4 separate regions of the Homo sapiens genome follow, and regions 1, 2 and 3 are each linked to region 4. Evidence: promoter capture Hi-C in human tissues and cell types (Jung and others, 2019). All regions are on one chromosome and are shown on one strand. The core of a region is centred on a gene start or on the middle of the fragment in contact, and the rest is flanking DNA. Distances in the headings are between cores, read along the strand shown.

Region 1 (6,290 bases), core at 3,633-6,132, 240 kb before region 4:
TCAGGAGTTCAAGACCAGCCTGGGCAATATAGCGAGACCCTCATCTCTACAATAAGTAAGTAAATAAATAAATAAAAAGTCAGGCATGGTGGCATGCACCTGTAGTCTCAGCAACTCGGGAGACTGAGGTGGGAGAATTACTTGCGCCTGAGAGGTGGAGACTGCAGAGTCCAGATTGTGCAGCTGCACTACAGCCTGGGTAACAGAGTAAGACCCTGTCTCAAAAAAAGAATATAGTGTGAGAGGCAAGTAATGATTATGATAGCAGCTGATATTTTGCTTGCATTCTTTTTAGGCACTGTTCTAAAGTGTTTTTGTTTCGTTTTGTTTTTTGTTTTTTGAGATGGAGTCTTGCTTTGTCACCCAGGCTGGAGTGCAGTGGCATGATCTCAGCTCACTGCAACCTCTGCCTCCCAGGTTCAAGCGATTCTTGTGCCTCAGCCTCCCGAGGAGCTGGGACTACAGGCGTGTGCCATTATGCTCAGCTAATTTTTGTATTTTTAGTGTAGATGGGGTTTCACCATGTTGGCCAGGCTGGTCTCGAACTCCTGACCTCAGGTGATCTGCCTGCCTTGGTCTCCCAAAGTGCTGAGATTACAGGCGTGAACCACTGTGCCCGGCCACTGAAGTGTTTTTATGTATTAACTCATTTAATCTTCACAACAACCGAATGAGGTAGGTACTATTACCACTGCCATTTTACAGAGGAGGAAATTGAGACACGGAGAAGTTAAATAATGTGCCTACTATTACATGTCTAGTAAATGCAGGGCCAATATTGAAACCGAGACAGTCTGGCTCCAGAGTCTTTGTTCTTCACCTCTACTTCGTATGTAAAGCAGTAATTCTCATAGTCCCCAGATCGGCAGCATCATCAGCCTTATCTGGAAACTTGTTAGAAATGCACATTTTTGGGTCCCACCCAACACCTACTGAATCGAAAACTCTAGAGGCAGGGCTTACCAATCCAAGTTTTGTTTTTTGGTTTTTGTTTTTTTTTGAGACGGAGTTTCACTCTTGTTGCCCAGGCTGAAGTACAATGGCGTGATCTCAGCTCACTGCAACCTCCCCCTCCCCGGTTCAAGCTATTCTCCTGCCTTAGCCTCCTGAGTAGCTGGGATTACAGGTGTCTGCCACAACACCTGGCTAATTTTTTGTATTTTTAGTAGAGACGAGACTTCACTATGTTGGCTAGGCTGGTCTTGAACTCCTGACCTCAGGTGATCCACCCGCCTTGGCCTCCCAAAGTGCTGGGATTACAGGCGTGAGCCACTGCGCCCAGCCACCAATCCAAGTTTTAACAAGCTTTCCAGGTGATTCTGATGGTTGCTGTTTGAGAACCTCTAGAAGCAAGGCATGGTATAAGTGTCAGAAATTAATCTCCTCATGAGTAAGGACCGGTTATGGTCCATCCCTTAAGTTCCCAGCCTCTGCATGGCATCTAGTGTAAAGCAGGCATCAAAAATTTGTGAGTTTATGGGAAAGTGATGTTTGAGCTGGGTCTCTTACCCCGCCTATCACTGCACCAGACCGAATAGGAGGGAGAATGGGAGTTCCCAGAAACTTTGAGACTAGCAAGGAAGTGGTTGTGATACGTCTAGCAAGATATGATAAGGGTCTGCACCAGCATAAGAAACCATCAGAATGGCAGTGAATCATGTGAGAGCAGTTCAGAAGGTAAACATGTCAAGACGTGGTGAACAGCTGAATAGATGGAAAGAACAAGGGATAGAGGAACTGTCATTTCTGACATGAAGGTGCTGTTCGCTGAGATAGGAAGCACAGGGCAAGTATGTTTGTGAGTGAAAGATAAAGTGTTTGGTTTGGACTTCTTAAATTTGAAGTGCTGGTAGGATATCCAGGTGGAGCTGTCCAGCAAACACTTGGAAATGTGAGTATGAGACATGGTTGGAAACAGAGATTTGGAAGGATAGTTGGGCCGTAAGAGTGGATGAGACCTTTAAGGGGAGAGTGGAATGAGAAGAGAGCTGGGTTTGGAACCACAGTGAACAGTTAATGAGGCAAAAGCAAAAGGGGCCCTTTAGAAAGACTGAAAAGGACTTAGGCAATAGGAGACTGCAGAAGATGCCGCAGCCAAGTAGAAGGCTCAGAAGGGAAGTAGAGGCACAGTGACAGATGCTGCAGAGAAATAATTGAAAAGTATCCTTTGGATGTCAACCCCAAAAGTCATTTAAGTGACGTGATGAGGGCAGAAGCTGATTGACAGTTCAGGCATGAACTGTAGATGAGAAAGTGGAGGCAGGTGCTTCCCAGGTCCGGCGGATAGAGCTCTGTAGCTGCACTTAAGTTCAAACTGTGACATCTTCCAGGGTAGGCCGCGTCTCTACTTATCTGTGGTCTCAGCGTCCAGCACATGGCGTGGAAGAGGGGGTGGCGTCAGTGAGTTCAGTGACTAGGGACGGAGAAAGACTTCGTGGAGGCAGTCGCTTTGCAGCCAAGGCTTGAAGGATGAGGGTGATTGGGAGGAGAGGTGGGAGGCAGGGCCCCTGGGCGCTGGAGTGCCAGGGGGTCTGGGAATGAAGTGGGGTTCCCATAATGTGTGCGCGCAGCTCGGTGCGACAGGCGGGGGCTGTGTGTAGGTTTGGAGGGACCTATTTGGGGAAAAGACACAGGGCTGAAGGCTGCTGTGGCGGGATGTCCCTTCGCCCTGCCCCACTTATACCACTGCGCGGTTCCAAGGCACCTCTACTGGCGCCCTCCCGCCGGGCTGCATGGCGACGGGTGACCGCCAGGGGCCGCTGCCTTGGGTCCCCGGTGCCCCCGCCCCTCTCCATTGGCCTTTGTTGCCGTCGGAGCGCCCCGCTTGACTCGTTCCGGTCCGCCCCCTGGGCCCGGCGGTCGCGCCTGCGCACTGGCAGCTGGCCGGGCGCTCGCAGTGGGAGCTGCTGCAGGCTCCGCGGCGGCGGCAACGGAGGCTGCGGGGGCGGCGGCGCGAGCGGCCGGGCTTGGTAGGGGAGCCGAGCCCGGCCCGGGATCCCGAGCAGCGAGAGTGTGGGGTACCTAGGCCCCTCACGCTGGACTTCACAGTCTCCGGGCCGCCTGACCTCCGCACGGGTATATGGGATGGAAGCGGGACCCTCGGGAGCAGGTAAGGGTCCCCAGGAGGGGGAACGGTGCATGCTCCAAGGACTGGGGGATCCCGCATGAAAAGCGTGGTTTCCAAGTGATGGAAGCGCTCCTGAGTGAGGAGAAGGGCTCTCCCACGATGGGGGCCCAGTTTGAAGGAGGCTGTGTGCAGTTCCGGGGGAGAACCATGTGAAGAGAGCCCTGAGATGGGGGCTGTTTGTCCAAGGAGGCTGTATACAGTCCTGCGGGTTGGAAGTAATCTGGGAGAAGGGCCTGCACGCACGGAAGGACTCCCAGACATCCGTGGAGGCCTACGGAGAGGCCCGGCAGGTGGCAGGGGACGGGCTCCAGGTGTCCAGGAGAGGAGGGGGCGACACAGATGGGCCTGGAGCTACCGCATGCCGGGGGCGGGGGCTCCGCTGGGCTGGAATAGGCTAATGTCTCTTGGGAGAAGGCGCCAGAGCTGGACTGTGAGCTCCGCCCCACTGGGCCTGACGCGAGGGCGAGGGTCAGGGGGCGGTGGGTGGGGACCCAGTCCCGGGATTACCCCCCGTGGGTCTGGGGAGTCGGAGCGGAGGCTCCAGAGCATGCGCGGAGGTGGCAGCTGGAAGGGGCTGCCCGACGTGGTGGGGGCGTGGCTGTCCGAATACCCCCACCTCTCCACACCCCCCCGCCCCGCCCCGTTTGGCTTGGAAAAAGGAGCGCGCTGATGGGGTGCATTCTCTCTTAGGTTATGCTGGCAGTGTGCAAATGGTTATGGTCCCCTCCCCCATTTTAGGGGCTCTTACACTTGGCCCTCAGTCACAGTTTGCTAAGAATGGGTTGAGGGAAGCTGCCAAAGTGCATTTTTCTGCCACAGGAAAGACTGGGACCGAAGCGATGGGTTCTGGGGGTGGGTCCTCCTGAAGATAGGCCTTAGGAAAGGTATTGGTTACGGAGGAATCAAGGACAGGGCAGGGGCTACCTGGAAGGAGTTGTCTGCTTGGTTTGCAAGTTTCTGCTCCAATACTGAGTAGTGATGGGGGCTTTTAATCCAAAGATTTTCCATTGAATTGTCTGTTAAGGTTACACTCTACATTTATAACATTTATTCTAATATTTCTTAATATTTTCATGGCTCCTATCTTCCACTGGATATCTTTCCGTTTTCCTCTCCCCACTCCCCAGAAACTGTCAGGGCTGTCTTTAGAGCCAAGATCTAAACCCTACAAACACGTTGGAGGATGGGGGAGTTTATAGCCTTCATCCTGGTGAGGCCTAGGTGATAGCCTTAACTTCTTATTTGCAGGCAATGAGGAGGAAAAGACATAGGAACAGAGGATAAACTGAGGCAGGATTGCCTCAAGAAAACTGGAGTCCTTAGGATGGGCTGTGGGGTGGTGATACCTCTTGTGTCTTAAGTGTCTTACCCTGTGATGGGACGAGGAGCCTGGACCTGGGAATCCTTCAGGTCATCTCTCACCACTTCCTTACATTTGGTCTGGGGATGGGAATCAAATTTCCATTTAGGCCATGAACTTCATTACTTTCCTAGTGGAATTATTTTGTTTTTTTTGTAGCAGACCTAACTCCCTCCCACCCTCCCAAGGAAATAGCTCCTACGACCTCACTCAAGTTATCCATTTAGTGATCTCTAAGTACTTAGTGACTGTTTTCCCTCTTAACAACCAGCCTTGTATAGACTGTGTAGTCGTAAGGATAAGCACAGGGAGCAACTGACTTGAGTACTTCCTCTCTGTCAGGACCCTCTCTCCATCCCAGGAACTTCTGTTTTTCAAGGCTGGGGACTATTTCCAACAACCCATGAACTAGAGTAGTGGGGTAGGTCATTGAGGTCCACATGGATTGCTGGTTGCTGGTACCCATTCTAGACTAATGATTTTTATCCTGATGAATTCCTAATAGGCTCTGGAGTGATGAAAAATTGACTTTTTAAAAATTTGTTACAAAAAATAAGCTTATAGGAAAGGAGCTAGAACCTGCTGTTTGGAGTCAGCCAAAGCCTTGGGAAAAGCCGAATAGGACAGGCTTTGCCTCAGTAAAGGGTATAATTGAGATTCAGTCTGGAAGCTGCAAATTGAGGGACCCCATAACTGCCTCCTTCCTAGGCCCGGACTGTTCTCTTATAAGAAGTTAGAGTGGTGTCCCAAGGTGGCCTGAGGACATAATACACAAAACTAAAGCGTTGTGTAAAAAACAACAACAAAAAACCCCCCAAAAACTAAAGCATTGTTGCTAGCCTCACTGGGCTTATGCCCAGGTCTGCCTTCTGTGCTCAGGTGTGTTCCAAGCACATACAGTGGACTGGGTGCTCCCTGAGGGTAGAAGCAGTGTCTGGTTTATTTGTAGAACTAGCAAGTGCCTAGTGTATAGGCCCTGGCACAGAATACATGTTTATTAATTAAATCAAATCACATTCAAGTGTGAACATAAATGGTTAAGCACGTATGTGGATATTTAATAAAGTGTATACTCACATGGAACAGATCCTTTTTGGAGAGATTGGCTTGTTAGTCTTTGCTTGCCCACCAGCTAACCTAACCTAACCTAACCTTGAATTTGTGTCTTTTGAATAGGCAGTCTGGCTCCTTGGGAGGTGTGTGGGCCTCAGAACTGCAAGAAAGGAATCCTGAGCCAGGGTTTTCAGCTCTGTTACTTTTCCTTCTCTGGGCTCCTTGGGGATGGGGGAGGGGGAGTGTCCTTTTCAGGGCCCCTCCCTCCTTGCTTTTGTCTGAAGAGAAGGGTCCCGCCCCTTTCCCCCTAGGCCCAAGCTTTGTCCTCTGTGCTGGGGCCCTCATCTGCATCACAAAGTGGCCGTCTGTCCCTGTCTGGGTCTGTAGGGAAGTGTCTCCCTTTCTCAGACTAAAAGCTGGGGTAAGGGGGGCGGGGAGGAGACAGTGCTGTTGTTAGGCTTTCAGGGGGATGTAATGGGAGAGAGGTTCCTGCTTCCTGCTGTCTTTCCTAGTTTGGAGATGAAGTGGGGGTGTGGGCTCCCCTGTTTTCCCAAAGCCTCTTTGGAGAGGAAGGTGCTCTAAGGCTATGTGTGGTATGTAGTCGGGTTTCTGGGGAAGAGAAGGCTTTGAGGCTAGAGTGTCTGTCCCATCCCCCATCATTTCTAACTAGCCCCCCAGCTCTAGGAGTTATCTTTCTCCGAAGGCCCCAAATGATTATTCAGTCTGGGAGGGGAAGAAGGTGAATGAAAT
Region 2 (5,570 bases), core at 21-2,520, 150 kb before region 4:
ACATTCCTGGCGGTTAGACTGATGAGTTAAGGGCAAATGTATTAATATTTGTAATTTGTATCATTGTTGCCAGATTGCACTCCATAGAGATAGTAAATATTTTGCATCAATGAATGAGAGTACCAGTTTCCTTATATCTTTGCCACTAGAATCATCAAACTCTTAGATTTTCTTCAATCAGATTTGCAAGAAACAGTTTTCTTGTGTCTTCTTAATTTGTATTTGACTACCTTTTCACAAATATAAGGGCCACTTGTGTTTCTTTTTTAATGAACTGTTAGTTTATATCTTTTGCCCTTTTTTTTCTATTGGATTTTTCGTCTTCTTATTTACTGAGAATGCTTTCTAAATTAAGGAAGTTAGCTGTTCATCTGTCATGAGTTGCAGATATTTTACCTAGGTTGCTATTTGTCTTTTGACCTTTGGTATTGTGATGTTTTTTTTGTTGTTGTTTTTGTTTTTGCCATGCAGAAGTTTGTTTGTATGTTGGTGTGTGCACACATACATATGTATTGGTCAGTCATTTCTTTTATGACTTTTAATATCTGATAGGACTAGTCCCATTTTTCTCTTTTCAGGGTTTTCCAGACCATTCTTATGTATAAGCTTTAGAAATTCCTTGTTTAGATCCAGTGAGTGGGAGAGGACAGATTGTTATTTTTATTGAGATCCTATTAGATTTATAAATTAAGTTAGGACAAATTGGCATATTTAAGGTGTTGTCTTTTCTGTCAAAGAATATACTATGTCTTTCTATTTGTTTAAGATTACTTTCATTTTCAAGAGATCTTAAAGCTTCACATAAATTTTGCACATTTCTTTTTTTTTTTCTTTCTTTCTTTTCTTTTTTCTTTCTTTTTTTTGAGACAGAGTTTCGCTCTGGAGTACAATGGAGTGATCTCGGCTCACAGCAACCTCCGCCTCCCAGGTTCAAGCAATTCTCATGCCTCAGCCTCCCAAGCAACTGTGATTACAGGCATGCACCACCACACCCAGCTAATTTTGTATTTTTAGTAGAGATGGGGTTTCACCATGTTGGTCAGGCTGGTCTCGAACTCCTGATTTCAGGTGGTCCACCCACCTCAGCCTCCCAGAGTGCTGGGATTACAGGCGTGAGCCACTGCACCCAGGCCATTTCTTGTTATTCCAGGATATTTTCTCCTTTTTGTTGCTATTAAATGGGTTTATAGATACTAACTGGTAATTGCTTATATATATTCAGGCTTTTGATTTCTGTATACTTTCTCTCTTTCTGTGTTATTGAATTCCATTATTGTTTGTGGTATTTTTTCAAGCGATTTTATTGGGGTTTCTAGGTTATAATCATCACCTGCAACTAGTGATAAGTTTACCTCTTCCTTTGGATTTTTATACCTCTAATTTTTTTTATCAGATTATATAGACTAATTAGACAGGGTAGGATTAAATAGTAGTGATTAATGTGCGTCCTTTTTCTTTCTTGCTCTAGAAGCATTAAGCATTGTATGTATACATTGTCATATTAAGGAATATCTGTTTCTTATTAAGTACGTTTATCAAGAGTATGTGTTAAATTTTGTCAGATGCCTTTTCAGCATCTATGGAGCTGATGATGTGATATTTCTCTTATTTTTAACAAACATTGAACCAAACCAGGACTCCTAGATTCTTTTAATTGATGCTGGATTCTGTTTGCTAATACTTTCCTTTTATAAATTAACATGCAGAAGTCATATTAATCTGCAGCCTTCCTTTTTTGTACAATCTTTGTCAAGTTTTGGTATTATTTCCTAAAAAATTCAGAAGTTTTCCATTTTCTAAAATGTATAACAGTTTTAAAATAGTATTGATATTATCAGCTCTTGTATGATTTCGTAGAATTCCCCTATAAAACCTTGTGACCTGCCGTTTTTTGTTTGGTTTGGTTTGGTTTGCTAGGTAGCTGTTTTAAAACTTCCCTCATTTATTTTGTGAAAATCAGTCTAATAATTTATCGTACAATTAAAAATAACTAAAAATATAATTGGATTGTTGGTAACATAAAGAAAGGATAAATGCTTGAGGTAATGGATACCCCATTTACCCTGATCTGATTATTATGCATTATATGCTTGTATCAAAAGCTCGTGTAACCCATAGATATATACATCTAGTATGTACCCATAAAAATTTTTTTTTAATTAAAAAAAAAAGTCTGTTCAGGCTGTTTAGGTTCACTTTTGGTAGCTCACATTTTACTGGAAAATTATTTTATTCATATGTAATTTAATTATACAGAGTTTTACAAAGTAGTTTCTATCGTTATTATGATTTTTTTTTTTTTTTTTTTGAGACAGGGTCTTGCTCTGTCACCCAGGCTGGAGTGCAGTGGTGTAATCTTGGCTCACTGCAACCTCCACCTCCCAGGGTCAAGCGATCTTCCCACTACAGCCTCCTGAGCAGCTGGGACTACAGACACATGTTACCACACCTGGCTAATTTTTGTATTTTTTGTAGAGACAAGATTTCACCATGTTGCCCAGGCTGGTCTCAAACTCCTGGTCTCAAGAGATCTGCCTGCCTTGGCCTCCCAAAGTGCTGGGATTACAGGCATGTGCCACCGTGCCCAGCTAGTTTCTATTAGTTTTTGAAATTCTGTGTATTTTTGTGGTTTTCCCAGTCTGTTATTTTGCATATGTATGCTTTGTTCTTTTTACTTTTTTTTCAGGTAGTGAAATTCAGTGGTATTTATTTTTCTCCATCTTTTTCAAGCTTTCAACAATAAGCATCTATTACTTCTTATCAAAAAACTAAAAAAAAGACGGTATGGCATCATAAATATTTATTTTAGAAAACAAAATGTATTTATTGAGTGCTTTCTGATTAAGAACAAAGTATAGTTAATGAATGCTGATTGTTTAATTAAGTAGTTTAATCCTTAACCTTTTTTCCTATGCCCTGACTTCTTTTTTGGTAACATAGTCTTCCCAATTAATGAATTACTGAAACCTATAATAAAGAATATTTTCTATTATTCTAGCTCAGGTGTATATTTAGTACTTAAACTTAAATACTTGAATCAATGAAATAAAATCTTGATGAACTCTTTCTAGAGATGTAAGGTACCCAAATTTCTTGACACAATTTTTTTTGAGTTTTGCTCTTGTCACCCAGGCTGGAGTGTAGTGGCTCGATCTCGACTCACTGCAACCTCCGCCTCCCTGGTTCAAGCGATTGTCCTGCCTCAGCCTCCCAAGTAGCTGGGATTACAGGTGCATGCCACGACACCCAGCTAATTTTTTTGTATTTTTAGTAGAGATGGGGTTTCACCATGTTGGTCAGGCTGGTCTCGAACTCCTGACCTCAGGTGATCCGCCTCCCTCCGCCTTCCCAAGTGCTGGGATTACAGGCGTGAGCCACCGCATCTGGCCTGAAAACAATTTTTTTTTTTATTAACGTTAAACTCACTAGAAAACTCTCAAGAATTGTGTTGAAGATCATTTGAAAATATATCTGCCAACTTCCTCTTCCTTCCTGAAGTGTGTTTACAGACAGAGCAAGTTACAACAGTCTTACTATTCTTTGAGGATAGAGCAGCTTCCTGGGGATTCTGGAGGCTCAGTTTTCTGGTCTGTTATTAGGACACAATACTGATGTTGAGGAAAGTAAGGCCTTGCTGACAATGGGAATTATTCTTAAAAGTTATTTTTCTATCTATTTTAGCTAGATTAGTAACATGTACTTTCATTTTGTTGGTGGAAATATTTAAAACAATTATTTTTCTGGTGATCACTGTTTTAGCCGTATTACAAAGCTTCTAATATGTAGTATTTTTATTATATTCTAGAAACTAGAAATACATAATATTATTTTCTAGAAACTCCACAAATTTCATTTGTATTTCCTCTGTGCTTGAAATATTGTTTGAGAGACTTTTCAAATTTTCAGATTGAAGATCTTTTTGTTTTCTGGATTTGTTGTGAATTTCTAGTTTCATTGTGTTGTTAAAAAATGTTGTTTGTGGCTGGGCGCGGTGGCTCATGCCTGTAATCCCAGCACTTTGGGAGGCCGAGGCGGGCGGATCACGAGGTCAGGAGATTGAGACCATCCTGGCTAACACGGTGAAACCCCATCTCTACTAAAAATACAAAAAATTAGCCGGGCGTGGTGGCGGGCATCTGTAGTCCCAGCTACTTGGGAGGCTGAGGCAGGAGAATGGCGTGAACCCAGGAGGCGGAGCTTGCAGTGAGCCGAGATCGCGCCGCTGCACCCCAGCCTTGGGACAGAATGAGACTCCTTCTCAGAAAAAAAAAAATGTGGTTTGTATTTTTCCTTTTAGAGTTTCTAGAGGTATTTTTTGTAGCCCAATATACGGTCAATTTTTGTGATAGTTCTATGGCTATATGAAAATAAGATATATTCATATATTAGTTTAGAGTGAAATATCCATCAGAGCTACCAGTTTGATTATGTTGCTTATGTCATTTATTTCCTTAGTTTTGTTTTTTGTTCTCTCAGACTAGGATAAATAAATTTCCTATTATTAATATCTTTCTGTTTCTTCTTTTATCTCCTGTAATTTCCATTTTCTGAATGTTGCTACTGTATTAGGAGCATATATATTCATATCTGTTTTCGTTATGAATTATAACCTTTATATAAGTGACTTTCTTTTTGTACTTTTTGACCAAAATTCTACATTATCTAATAAAAAGATTGCACTTCATGCTTTTGTGAACTTTATCCTATCCTTTAACTTTTTTTTTCAGGTATATCTTGATGACAGCATAGAATGGTTTGCTTTGTGGGTCAGTTTAAAGCTTTTTTTCTGTTTGGTGGATGAATTAAGCCAGATATAGATAGGAAGGACATATCTTTCTGTCAAGTCACAACCATTGGTCATGGTTTTGTAAAATTATTTTATGCCATTTTTTACATTTGTATATATTTTGAAACTTTGAGTGTTGTGTTTTCTGTGCTTTTTAAATGGTAGTCCTCATCTTAGGAAGATTTTTCCCCCCAGTGGTTATCTTTATACTTATACCTTCATATGATACCTATCTTCCTCTGTTTTAAAGCAGTCTTTTGTTTCCCTTAATTGAGTAACAATTACATTAGCTTTATTCTCTTCCCTTCTTTCTACTAGTTTTAGCCAATATAGTATTATTTTATTGCTCTTTATAATTTTATTCTGTCATGTTGCTTAAGTTTTTACTGATTGACTTTCAACTTTGACTCCTACCTGTTGCACATGAGGTGCAGTCATTGAGCTTATTCTACTTTTCATATATTCTACTCTTAACATCCATTTGTATATATTCATTGATTTGAATTCCTACATTCTTAGACCATGTAACAGTTTCATTCCATTTGTTTTCAATCTTAAATCTGCAATTAAATGTATTGTTGCTCACTGCCAGTCCTTTTGCTGAAATTTTTCTGGTCATTTGTTGGTTTCAGTTTGTCCTCAAGTTGTTTCTTCAAGAAATGCTCATATGAATAAGGCCTGAGTTATCTGTAGCCTTATTCCTGAAGGACTGTTTGGCTAGATGTGGAATTGTTGGCTCACACTTTTTCCTTGAGTACCTTGTAGGTATTTTTCCACTGTCTTC
Region 3 (6,142 bases), core at 489-2,988, 200 kb before region 4:
TAATTTTTGTATTTTTAGTAGAGACAGGGTTTCACCATTTTGGCCCTGCTGTTCTTGAACTCCTGACCTCAAGTGATCCACCCACCTTGGCCTCCCAAAGTGCTGGGATTACAGGCATGAGCCACTGTGCCCGGCCAGGACTGCTGTCGTAATAAGCCCTGAGTACACTTGCAGGTTGCTTATAAGAAGAGTGCTTTATGACATTGGTAGTTTTGCATCTGCCTGTTCATGGGTGAATTATCTACCCAGCCATATTCTTAACAGTGATCCTGTTCCCCTATTATCAGCCATCTTCTCTGCCCAGCCTGGGACCCCTCACCTTCCTATCTTCCCAGGGCACCAGCCGACCATCCCATTACTATGTTCTTTGGGATGACAACCGTTTCACAGCAGATGAGCTCCAGATCCTGACGTACCAGCTGTGCCACACTTACGTACGATGCACACGCTCTGTCTCTATCCCAGCACCTGCCTACTATGCCCGCCTGGTGGCTTTCCGGGCACGATACCACCTGGTGGACAAGGAGCATGACAGGTGAGGCCTGGGATCAGGTTGGCCTCCTTTTTGCTTCAGCCTATTGTGCCAGATCTTCTTAACTTTCCTTGGGTAGAAGGAAATGAGTGCTGTCCAATTTGGTGTCATTGGGCTCGTCTGCCCAATCCTGGGTTGGGTTTCTCTCTTAAGTTGGTATGGGAATTGGCATCCCAGGGCTGGGCGAGGGAATTAGCAGCAGCTCTCAGTTCACCAGGAAGGACTTCTTTCATTTTTTCCTTTTCAGTGGAGAGGGGAGCCACATATCGGGGCAGAGCAATGGGCGGGACCCCCAGGCCCTGGCCAAAGCCGTGCAGGTTCACCAGGATACTCTGCGCACCATGTACTTCGCTTGAAGGCAGAACGCTGTTACCTCACTGGATAGAAGAAAGCTTTCCAAGCCCCAGGAGCTGTGCCACCCAAATCCAGAGGAAGCAAGGAGGAGGGAGGTGGGGTAGGGAGGAGTGTAGGATGCCTTGTTTCCTTCTATAGAGGTGGTGTAAGAGTGGGGAACAGGGCCAGCAAGACAGACCACCAGCCAGAAATCTCTGATATCAACCTCATGTCCCCCACCCCTCACCCCATCTTGTCACATCTGGCCCTGACCCCACTGGACCAAAAGGGGCAGCACTGGTGCCCACCATACACACAGGTGTCTCATGTGACTCACAGTGCTAAAGACTCATGCTTGACAGCTTGGTAAGGTCAACTCTGTAGCCCTGCAGACAAAAGCTGGTTAGGTTTGGGTTTGATACTTTAGATGGGAAAGTGAGGGGCTTGAGAAAGTGGGTGGGAGGAGGGAAGGATTTTTTAGGAGCCTTAATCAGAAAAGGACTAGATTTGTTTAAGAAGAAAAATGAAACCAGACCCAGATCAATATTTTAGGATACTAGATGTTTTAATGGGTTCAGAATCCAGTTTGTAGGAAGATTTTTTAATGGTTTTGGTTGCTCCTCCCCCAGCTGCCACCCCCCACCTTACCCTTATTCCTCTCTGTCCACATTTTCTGCCCCACCTTACTTCTCCTCCCTGACAGACATCCAGCCCCTAGTAATACTTAAGGCACTATGGCACTTAGCTTTGAAGTGACACGACCCTGTCTTCCTTCCGCCCGCTGGTGGGTAACCAGTGCCTTCCCTGTAACGGTAATGCTGCAGAACTGCAACCTTTTGTACCTTTCTTTGGGGAATGGGGTGGGGGTGGGAGAGGAGGTAGATGGGGAAGAAATACCCCAGACCCAACAAACCTCCAGCCAGAAAGCCAGCTATTTTGCATTTGAAGGAATTGACTTCCTCATTCATTGAGCTTTTTAAAAGATCACAACCTCAAGATGGTTAAAATCCATTGACATTTGCACTTTCAAACATGACAAGTCTCGGAGCTGCTGAGATGACAGGCCCCTGGCCTTTCCACTTATGCCTCCTTTTCTCCTTATTCCTCCTACCTCCCGCCCCGCCCAGGTCTGGAGTTACTTTCATAGCATTTTTCACTCTTGGCTTCTTTTCTCCCTTGATGGTCAAGTCTCTTATGTTTCAATATTTCTTAACTGGGGTGTCTTATAACAAAAAACTCTTAGGTCTAAAATGAGAAAAAAGAGAGAAAACAAAATGTTATTTTTATACCATAACTTGAGTGTATTGCCAAAATTTGGAAATCCTTCCCATGCCTGATGAGTTTATATCCCAGAAACATTGAGCCATCAGAATGAACTGTGTACCTGATTTGTTCTCTGACCTGGCTAGGTAGGGAGGGGGTGGTTATCGCCCCAAGATGGGGTCCAGGCTCCATCCTTCCTCTGTGCAGATAATACCTTTTTCTTGCTATAGCCTCCCTCCTCTGCACTGTCCTGCACTCTTTCTTGCAAGTGCATCTTTTTCCTTCCCCTGGACTGTCCTCTGACCCTTTGGCTCATCCTAGATTGCAGTGTGTCCTGTGGACAGGCTGGGGAATTTTGCTGCTCCCTATTGCTTCTGTTTACAAAAATGAATTTTTCCTGGTTTCCCACTAGGGCATGTGGGTGGGTGGCATGGACTTTTTTTTTTTTTTTTTTTTGTCTTGAGACATGGGGTTTGGCTGTCTTGCAGGACTGGAGAAGGTGGTGGTTCTAGCTTGGTCTCTGTTGGCCTTGAAGCAAGCATCCCCCCTGCCCTTTTTCCTTGACTGTTCATTTTTTTCCTGCCCCACTGCTTGGGATGGGGAGTTGCAACTTCAGTGTGGAATTTCCTCTTTGAGGAGCCTGGGCTTGGATCTATCCTGATCTGGTGATGAAGCCATGATTACTTTAGACCTAGCCCAGGCTTGGAGGCCAGCTGGAGGAAGAAGGGTCTAAATCCTGGCCTGTAGAGTTAGAACTACCATTTCCTCCCCTTAGCTGCCCTTGTATGACCCGGATTTGCTATGCAAAACAATCTATCCCAGGTTCTGTTCTGGTTGGCTACATTGTTCAGCAACTCACAAAACGTAGCACAAACATTCATTATGGAGAAAGCATCAGGACTGTTGAGTAACTCCTCCTTTACTTTTTTCCTGCTGGCTACAGCATGGGGTGCCCTATAGGCACAAGCCCAGCTGAAGAACAGAATGGAGGGCTCTGGGAGGAGGCAGCTCACTGGAGAGCCTACATTCCTTACACAAGTGCCTAAAGAGAGTGATGCTAACACTCCATCTGCCCTGTCCATTGCCTTCATATACAGTCTACTTCGTGTTCTGTCACCCTTTGGGGAGGGGAGTTCTCCTGGGACAGTGGGCTCTGCATGTTCTCCACTTGGATACATTTTGGGGCTAGGATCAGGGCACTATTCCTGGAGGGTCCAGTCATTCACCAGCATTTGCAAATGTCCATAGGGAGCAGGTGGCAGCCTCTACTCCCAGCAACAAGTTTGTGTTCTCTCCTTTTCTCTCTTTGCCTCACTCTCTCCAGTTGGTTTTCAGCTGGGGCTTGAAATGCATTTTTAGCCCTTTGACGTGGCTTATGCCATTCAAGAAATAAAAAGCAAGAGAATCAGCTTTGGGCAATGACAAGAAATGAGTTCTTACTCTGATTTTTTTGTAAAAAGATAATTTTTGAGACTTGAAAAATACCCCGACCTTGAGATTATTCCTGTTTGAAAGGTGGTGCATGCAGATGGAGAAGTGGTGTTGGCAGCAAGCTTTGGCTCATGTGGATTTGGTTTAAGTGGTGCTTCTTACCCAAGCTTCAAGGAAGTGCTTGGGGGACCCCCAGCCTCATCCTCTTAGTTGGGTCTCTTGTTCCCTTTGTACCACTGTTTTGCCTTCCTTTTCCTCTTCTCTCTTTGCCTGGCTTCCTTTCCCTTTTCTTCTATTCACTCTGCTTGCTTGCTGGCCGGCCTGCCTGCCTGCCTGCCTGCCTGCCTGCCTGTCTGCCTATGTGATGATGAAATCTCTGCATGGCTGCAATGATCCCACTGTTAGCTGGCAGGGTCAGGCTTAGCTCCTTGACTGCAGAAGACCAAGAACCTGTTCCCCAAGCCCAGAGATGTCCACCTGGGCTGGACTGCCCTCAAGCTTATACTAGAGAAGAGCAACTGACCTGCCCAACTTGTGTGAAGTCAGGAGGGTTTCTGGCATTTTCCACACCTGTCCACTCCTTGGAGCTGGTTTCTCTCATTGCTTTTTCTAAATCTGGTTCTTTTTCTCTTTACCTGGGGCCTGGCTTTTCTGAGATTGTCTTAGGGTTGAGCTATTTGGGTATCCTGGGTTTGAGTGTTAGGGGATGGACATAAAGGAAAAAGAGTGATGAGAAGAGAATGGAGAGAATTTGAATAAAAGGTGGGAAAGGAGAGCACTGTTCTTTGATTGTTTATCCAGTCCAACCTGATCCATTAGGGATCGAGGTGCTACACTGGCCTCCAGGGATAAGCCTGGGGCTACTGTTGCTGGGAACTTAGGCTTAACATAAAGCCGAAGAAGGTACCTAGAAATTTGAAACTTCCCTAAAAAGCTCCTAATGCCCACCTGCTAGATAGCTTCTCTGTGGCCTCCTATTTAGCTAAGCAGCAGTGTTTTTGGATACTTTTTTTTTCTGTTTGTGAATAAGGCCAGCACTCAAGATGGGCAGCCAAGGGTGCACTGACTATTAGCTGGCCCATAGGATATCTGTAAGGCTGGTGGGACAGTTTTGGACCTGGAATCATGTGTAACTAACAAGGTTGGACGTTTCTTCCCCATCAGGGTAGAAAAATCATCTCAAACTAGCCAAAAGGCAGTTTTGGAAACTACATTGGGGGACGTTATTTTTATTTATATATGGGGCCTAGGCCAATCCAGGATGGTAGCTGGAATACCTTCCTTCTTAAAATCTGATCATGGCAGGGATATGCAGGGCACTTTTTACTATTTGGCCTTCTAAGCAGATTGGGAAGGAGGTATTTTCTGGTTTTCGCTTTCCTCCGACTTAATAGGACTTGCCTTCTCCCTGGGCAGGGAGAGAGGCTGGGTTGGTGCTCTCCCTTACTCTACTCATACTGACTTAGAGCCTCTGGCTGCTGTTTGGGCATCCAAGAAAGGGAGGGGAAGGAATGAGCTAAAAACAAAACAGAATGAGGTGGGAAAGGGAGATTTTCTTCTTTACAGAGGAAAATAGGAAACCCTCCAAGAATTGTGCAAGTAAAGACATTTGTTGAATGCACTGAGTCCCTTGGTGTAGTAGCAATAAGGAAAAATGAAATTACTTTCCTGTGCACACAGTCCAGCCTAATTGGTATGTGATGTTGCACTTAGCAGCCATGTGGTGGGCATGTGTGACTACTCTGGTTTTCACTTTAGTTTCTAAACTTTTTATCCCTCTCAAGTCCAGCATGGATGGGGAAATGTCTCTGGATCCCCACAGCTGTGTACTTGTTTGCATTTGTTTCCCTTTGAGATTTGTGTTTGTGTCCTGCTTTGAGCTGTACCTTGTCCAGTCCATTGTGAAATTATCCCAGCAGCTGTAATGTACAGTTCCTTCTGAAGCAAGCAACATCAGCAGCAGCAGCAGCAGCAGCACAATTCTGTGTTTTATAAAGACAACAGTGGCTTCTATTTCTAAAGTGCGGTCTTTCTCTTTTTTTTTCCTACCAGCAAAACAAACTTTTGGGACTGATTACATCTCTAATAGATTTTAGGTGAGAATAATACTGTAGATTGTTATGCAGGAATACTTCACAGAGCCTTCATTTATTCTTCATTCAACAAACATGCAAAGCACTGTGCCAGCAGTATTGTGGGGAGGGGAGGCACAATTCAAAATGAGGAAAATAGTGTCCGTCTCATTAAGGGAATTAAGTTTGGTGGGGGATATGATTAGCCAAATAGTCCCCTGGCATAGGAGGAAGATAATGAGGGAGTGGAATAAGGCTACAACAACGAATATAGGGAGGAAGGGACAGATTTGAGAGACGAGGTAGAATTAATAGGACTCGATGGCTGGTGGGAGGAGAAGACAGGAGTAGAGGTTAGCTCCCAGGTTTCTCCTTGACCATAGGAGTGTGTTGGGACATTCTGCCAGTCAAGATGGGGGTGACGGGGAGACTGTAGAAGGAAGGTGGGGAGTTTTTGAAGAAACAGAATGTTGTATAGACTGAGTTTTGAGGTGTTTGTGGGGCAGTAAGG
Region 4 (6,033 bases), core at 1,940-4,439:
CAGCCTCCAATTCAGAACTTTCCAAGAATCTGAATAGAAGCACGGCCAGGTCCTCCCCAGTCCACTCCCAGGGTCCAACCAGAGAGGCGGAATGGACACTGATCGGAAGATCTAGGTGCTGTGCCCCCATTGCATGTGTGACCTGGAACTACTCCTCACCTCTCTGCAGGCAAAACAACTCTGGAGACCAGTACAGCATTCCCATTTTAGAGATGGGGAAACTGAGGCACAGAGCTGGGAAGTCCTAGATCTGTCTGACTCCCAATGCCAGCTCATCTCCACACAGCACATGCTGCCTTACTCAAGATCTGCTGTCCACACTCCACCCACTCTGGAAATGCCCTCAGAACAAAGTGGGCCTGGAATTCTCTTTCTGGGAGTCAGACTTCCATGACTGGTACTTGGGCACATGTGTGTCCACATATGGCCTCGCAAACCCACCCAGGCTTCAAGGCTACACTCAGCCTCCAGCTCCCAGTCATCTCAACTTATCAGACCCCAGCGCCAAACCCACATCTCCCCTGCACCTGCCTTCTCTGGGGACAGGCCACAGCCATCCAGTGCAAGGCTTCTGGCCCCATCGCCAACCGGCTTACTCCTTTCCATCTACTTCTTCCTCTCATCCCCATGGCAACCGCCCACTTCATCCCCCGTCACCTTTCTCCTTAAACTCTGCCCAGCCTCCTCTGTGATCTCCCTTGCCTCGAAGATCCCCCCTTCATCCTTGTTCCCCAGAGCAGCCAGAGTGATTCCCAGATTATATCATTCGCAGCTCACACCCTTTCTCTAGACAGGGCCCTTAGAAATCTGACCTCAAAGTCATGAGTCCCTCCCACTCCCCAGTGTGATCCAACAGTGCCCATTACTCCCATTACTCACTGTCCCTGAGAGAACCCTGAAGCTTCCCCCTCCACACCTCTGCACGAGCTGTGCCCTCAGCCAGGAACACCCTCCCATTCACCCTTTCCACCCCCTGCACCTGTCAAAATTATCATCTTCGAAAGCCCTGGCCAGATTACCTCTTAGGTGCCACCTTCCCTGATCTGCACTTTGGCTTGCATGGTGCCCCTCCTCGGGTACCTAGTAGGGCACCGTGAGACCACAGCCACACCCCAGAGGAGAGGCCGCTGTGTCTCTCTCGTTCCTCCGACCCGACACTATAATTTCCTCCTGCCACGGATGGGACCAGCGCATCTGAGACCCCACTTCCCTGTAAGAGGTGCCCCATCCCTGCCACTGAGAGTTCTGGAGCGGGCTGGGGGGCCAGCAGGGCAAGGAAGCTGGGGCTGTGCGTCCTTTGTTCCGGCTCAGGCAGGAGCAGAGAAGGTAGTGGAGTACAGGGGCTCAGGCTGACAGCCCTGCTTAGTATCTTTCTCCTCCCTCTTGCTAACAGACACATTCACTTCCATATTTTCTTTCCCCTTCCTCTGAGCCAAAGAGCGGAAATTCTCATTTTCACTGTGGTAGACGAAGTGAAACCAGAGAAAGAGACCCTGGTGAGTGTGTCTGGGTGTGAGCGTATGTGTGTGTGTGCCGTCCTGTCTGAGTATGTCTGGCTGGGCCACGTGGGGCCTGCCATGTGTCTGTAGGAGTTTGGGTGTGTGTGCATGTGTCCGCCTGTGTCTTGTGGTGGTGTATGTTTCATTAGAGGAGGGTGTCCGCATGAATCTAATGAATGTTTGGGTCGGTGTGTGACTGTGCATGGCTCTCAGAAGGGTGCAAGGCTGTGTGTGGCTGGGTGAGCATGTCTGTGGTTTCTCCTCATTATCATCTAGGGTCATTGTGTGTCCAAGGGTTTGTAGGTGTTCACCAGTCCACTGGGAAGCCAGTGACAGCACCTGTGCCCTGATGGAGACCACCAACCATGGTGTCTCTCCAGAGATCACCAACTCCTGCCCTGCGGCCCCCTCTGCTTGGGGCAGTAAGGATCAGTCGATCTTAGCTCAGTCCCCAGAGAGGAACCCCAGGCTGCCTGACCCTCCAGCCATCCAGCTCCACGGCCCCCAGATTTTTCAAATGCCCAGTACAGCTGCTGGGAGGCTGTCCTTGCCAAGGGGACTCTGCTAAGAGGAGTGGATGAGCCCCTGCTGCCAGCCTGAGCAAGAGGTACTGATAGCAGACAGGAGGGATGATTTCTGGTTGCTCCGGCACCCCTAAGGAGGTCAGCCGCACGTCTGTGTCAGGAACCCAGCATGGTCTCACACAGGCACACACACGTGCGTGCACACATACAACCAGCAAAGTTTTCCCCGTGGCAATAGCGTTCCTGGGCCCTCTGGCTGAATAGCATTTCTCTACCTGGAGGATTTCCGGGGCTAGGGTGGCTCCAGACCCAGGGCAGAGACACTGGGAGGTTGTTCTGGGGCCCTGGGACCCCAGTCCCTCTTGGCCAGGCAGCGGCCCCTCACCCCCTGCAAGTCTCAGTCTGGAGCTGGGGGGATGCTGAGCCCCTGACAGGAACATTCCTGGGAACTTGTCTTCAGTTTGGGGCGAGGGGACTGACAGGGCACCTAGAATAGGAGGAACCTGGGGGCTAAGGCAGAAAAACCTTATAACTGGAAGGTCTCCAGCAAATCAGCAATGGCAGAGAGATGGGGGCAGGAGTGAGAGCGGGGGGATGCTAAGGCCCCTCACTCCCTCCTCTCTCCTCCACTACCCTGTGAAGGCGGCTTTTTTATCCCCACTTTACAGGTGGGACGGGAGATCGGGAGGTGGTGACGCGCCCAGAGCCACATCGTCGGGGGTTGCACCCGGCACTGTCTTATGCTGGAGCCCTCGCTTCTGGGAGAGGAAGGGAGGAGGGGGCTTTACTGGGATCCTGCCGGGGAGGGAACGGGGCACAGGGAACGGGATGGGCTCCCCCATTCTAAGGCGACCCCCTGGCCCGAGTCCCCCACCGCGTCCCCACCCCGGAGTCCGAGGCGCCGGCCCTGCTATCCCGCATGGTGTTGGGGGAAGCCCAGCCCAGGTCTTGCCCTCGGAGCCCCCCAGCCCGAGCCCCGGTGCCCGCCTCCTGGCCTTTACCTGCGGGCGCGGCCGCCGGGCGCCGCTCCCGGCCCTCGAGGGCGGCCCGGGCGGCGAGGGCTCCGGGCAGGGGCGTCCGCGGCTGGGCGGGCGGCGTTGGGGTCCGGGGTCCGCGCCGGCGGGGTTCCGCGTCGCTCTGCCGGCCGCCCCTCGCGGCTGCCGGAGTGGGCGGGCGGCAGGAGGGGCGCGTCGGGGCGGGGCCTCCGCCCTCCTCTTTCCACAGCCACGGCCAAGGCCCGCGCCCCGCCCGGCCCAGCGCGCCCAGCGCGGACTCGGACGGCTGCCTCCCTCCCCGACACCCACGCCGAGCCCCCTCCACACACGCGCTCCCGGGCGGCCCGCCCCCATCCCTCCCCGTCCACCTGACCCGCGGCTCGGCCGCCGGGGAGTCCGCGCAGCCCCTGCCCTCGAGGGGCCACCTGCCTGTGGGGACGGACGCGGCTGCTGAGAAGGACGGCCAGGCGTGGTCCTGCAGGGAAGGGGCAGCTCGGGCTGGTGGCCCCCAGTGAGGAGTCCCCAGAAGGCTGCCTGCAGACGTGACCTCGGTAGGCTGAGCCCGGAGGACTCACAGGGGCCAGTCGTGACCCGCACATTCAGGCTTTAGGGCATTGAGCCGGGGTCACAGAGGCAGGCGGGAGCAGGCCAGACCTCGTCCCTCGGAAATGGGGAGTCACGGAAGGCTCTGGAGCAGGGCAGTCACGTGGTCAGATGTGTGCTTTGGAAAGAGCCTCCCGAAGCTGTGTGGAGGAAGATAGAGGCAGGCCACCGAGGAGGCTGCGGGAATACCCTGGCATGGTCCCATGAGGTGCACAGTGAGGGGGAAGGAAAGGGAGGGCCCAGTGTGAGGGGAGTGAGGAGGCGAACTAGGCAGAGTTTGGGCGAGGGGCCTAGGAAGAAGCAGTGTCAAGGACAGTGCGCAGGCTTTGGGCTAGGCCTGGGGGCGGCAGGGTCTAGGAGAAGAAGGAGGACGGATGTAATGAATTGGATGAGCCTGTGGGACTTCCATGGATCCGGAAGGGAGGTGAGAGTTCTGGGATAGCGAGGAGGAATCCACGGTTTGCAGATGGCGACTGATGCCATAGAATAAGGAGCGGGCCCAGGGAGGCGGGCAGGGCGCGGGCAGGACACTCATCAGCATTCACGGGGCTGCCCAGGGAGAGGGGTCGGCAAAGGAGACTGAGAAGATGGCAGGGACCGGGAGAGCAGTGTCCCAGAAGGCAAAGGCAGAGTGCTTCTAGAAGGCCAGGGAGGCCCACGGGATGGGCTGTCACAGAAGGACATTCTTAGGGACAGCAATTAAGGGTTGGAGGTTGGGGTGGGGGTAGGGGCAGTAGCCAGGCAGCAGGGGAGAAAGGAGGAGGCAGCAAGTGCAGAGGGAAGGGGAGATGAGGTCAGGAAAGGATTTTGGGGTGTGTGTGTGTGTGTGTCTGTGTGCGTGTGTGCATGTAGGTGAGTGTGGGTGTCTGTGTGTGCATGTAGGTGGGTGTGGGCGTGTGTGTGCGTGCATGTGTGTGTGCGCGTGCCTGTGTGTGTACGTGTAGGTGGGTGTGTGTGTGTGTGTGTGCATGTGTGTGTGTGTGCGTGCCTGGGTGTGTGTGTGCATGCGTGTAGGTGGGTGTGGGCATATGTGGAGGTATGTGTGCTTGGGTGTGCAAGTGTGTGTGTGCGCGCATGGGTGGGGGGTCAGCATGTGTGTAGGTGTGTGGAGGGGTGGGGGTGTGTATTTGTGTGCGTGTGGGGAGGTATGTGCGTGGGGGGGTGTGGGGGGTGTGGCTGCATTTGGGTGTGTGGATGTGGCTATGTGGCTTTGTGTGGGTGTGTGTGGCTGTGTGGGTGTATTGTAGCTTTGTGTGTGTGGCTGTGTGGGGGGGTGTGAGTGGGAGTGTGTGTGGGGGGCTGTGTTTGGGGGTATGGGTGTCTGTGTGTGTGGGTGTGTGGGTGCCGCTGTGTGTTTGTGGGTATGGGTGTGTGTGTGGCTGTGTGTGGGGATGGGAGTGTGTGTGTGGCTCTGTGTTTGTGGGTGTGGGTGTGTGTGGCTGTGTGAGTGTGGGTGGGAGTGTGTGTGTGTGTTTGTGTGTCTGTGGGGGGGTGTGGGTGGCTGTGTGTGGGGGTGAGTGTGGCTGTGTGTGTGTGTATTTTCAGTGGGAAAGAGCAGAGCCCTCACCAGGTCCAGGAAAGGAGCAGGGAGGGCCCCAGGCTGTCTCGGGTCAGGGCCCACCCCCCTCAACCTTCCCCCTTCTGCTGCCTGCCCTCTGAGGGCCTCCCACTTTTCTGTCCCCCTGCCAAGGTACACACCAGCCCCGCCACTCCACAACGGGGCCTCTCACCCTCACCTACCGTCAGAGCCTGGCCCACTCCATCCCACCCGTCAGAATTGGGGGCAATTGCCAGGGGTCTTTGGGTCTGGCCTCCTGGCCTGAACTACAGGGGAGCCAGGCTGGGGCACTGCCCAGAGAAGGGAGGGGGCCTGGCTGGCAGGGTGCCTAGGAGGACACCGACTGAGGGGAGATTGCAGAGTTCTGACCCTGAAGCTGGTGTGGAAACCAGACCCTGCATGGGGATCTGATGGGGGCTGAGTGTGCATGGGGACGGGCTGGGAGGGGGTGGGAGCTAGGCAGCAGGGACTAAAGGTTGACAGCAAAGACCCTGGAGTTAGACTGCCTGGGTTCAAATCCAAGTGCCACCACCTACCAGCCACATGCCATTGGGCAAACACTTAACCTCTGGTGCCTCAGTTTCTCCATCTGGGAAGCTCTCATAGGCATGTTGTGAGGATGACAGTCAATCCATGCAGAGCACTTCACTCTGAGTGTGAGCTGTTTAGAGAGAAGGGAGGGAGCGCTGCATGAAGTGGGGCCTGGTGACACAAACGGGCAAGGGAGGGGCATGCTTTGTGGGAAAGGGACTCCCATGGGCTTCACACCCACATTCAGACACAAATTCAGCTGGTCCCCCACTCAGATCCCACCCCTGGGTCTCCTGACTCACTCCTTACACTTTTCCTGGGGC

What was found. The method cuts DNA at HindIII sites, captures the fragments that hold promoters and counts their contacts. A contact is called where the count stands out against the background at its distance.
Region 1: a fragment that was not itself captured here is called in contact with the fragment with the promoter of COL8A2 in region 4 in 2 of the 25 tissues and cell types used here (lymphoblastoid cells and spleen).
Region 2: a contact is called between a fragment that was not itself captured here and the fragment with the promoter of COL8A2 in region 4, in 3 of the 25 tissues and cell types used here (adrenal gland, dorsolateral prefrontal cortex and spleen).
Region 3: a fragment that was not itself captured here is called in contact with the fragment with the promoter of COL8A2 in region 4 in 1 of the 25 tissues and cell types used here (adrenal gland).

What each region holds. Positions count from the first base shown.
Region 1 is chr1:35,880,338-35,886,627 of GRCh38, forward strand. AGO1 (argonaute RISC component 1) reads left to right here and starts at 2,872. Exons shown (of 19, transcript NM_012199.5): 1 at 2,872-3,109. The coding sequence starts at 3,085. RefSeq lists a silencer at 2,635-3,094 and an enhancer at 5,445-6,084. The HindIII fragment of the contact is 3,416 bases long and covers 3,175-6,290 here.
Region 2 is chr1:35,975,103-35,980,672 of GRCh38, forward strand. The region is part of intron 5 of AGO3 (argonaute RISC catalytic component 3); the gene reads left to right. Among named protein-coding and RNA genes, the nearest start is that of AGO3, 47 kb to the left of the region's middle. The HindIII fragment of the contact is 3,961 bases long and covers 1-3,251 here.
Region 3 is chr1:35,918,720-35,924,861 of GRCh38, forward strand. AGO1 (argonaute RISC component 1) reads left to right here. Exons shown (of 19, transcript NM_012199.5): 18 at 336-535; 19 at 780-6,142. The coding sequence ends at 888. Among named protein-coding and RNA genes, the nearest start is that of AGO3, 9.3 kb to the right of the region's middle. The HindIII fragment of the contact is 4,306 bases long and covers 1-3,891 here.
Region 4 is chr1:36,122,033-36,128,065 of GRCh38, forward strand. It overlaps COL8A2 (collagen type VIII alpha 2 chain), which reads right to left and starts at 3,190. Exons shown (of 4, transcript NM_005202.4): 1 at 3,025-3,190. RefSeq lists a silencer at 502-702. The HindIII fragment of the contact is 15,339 bases long and covers 1-6,033 here.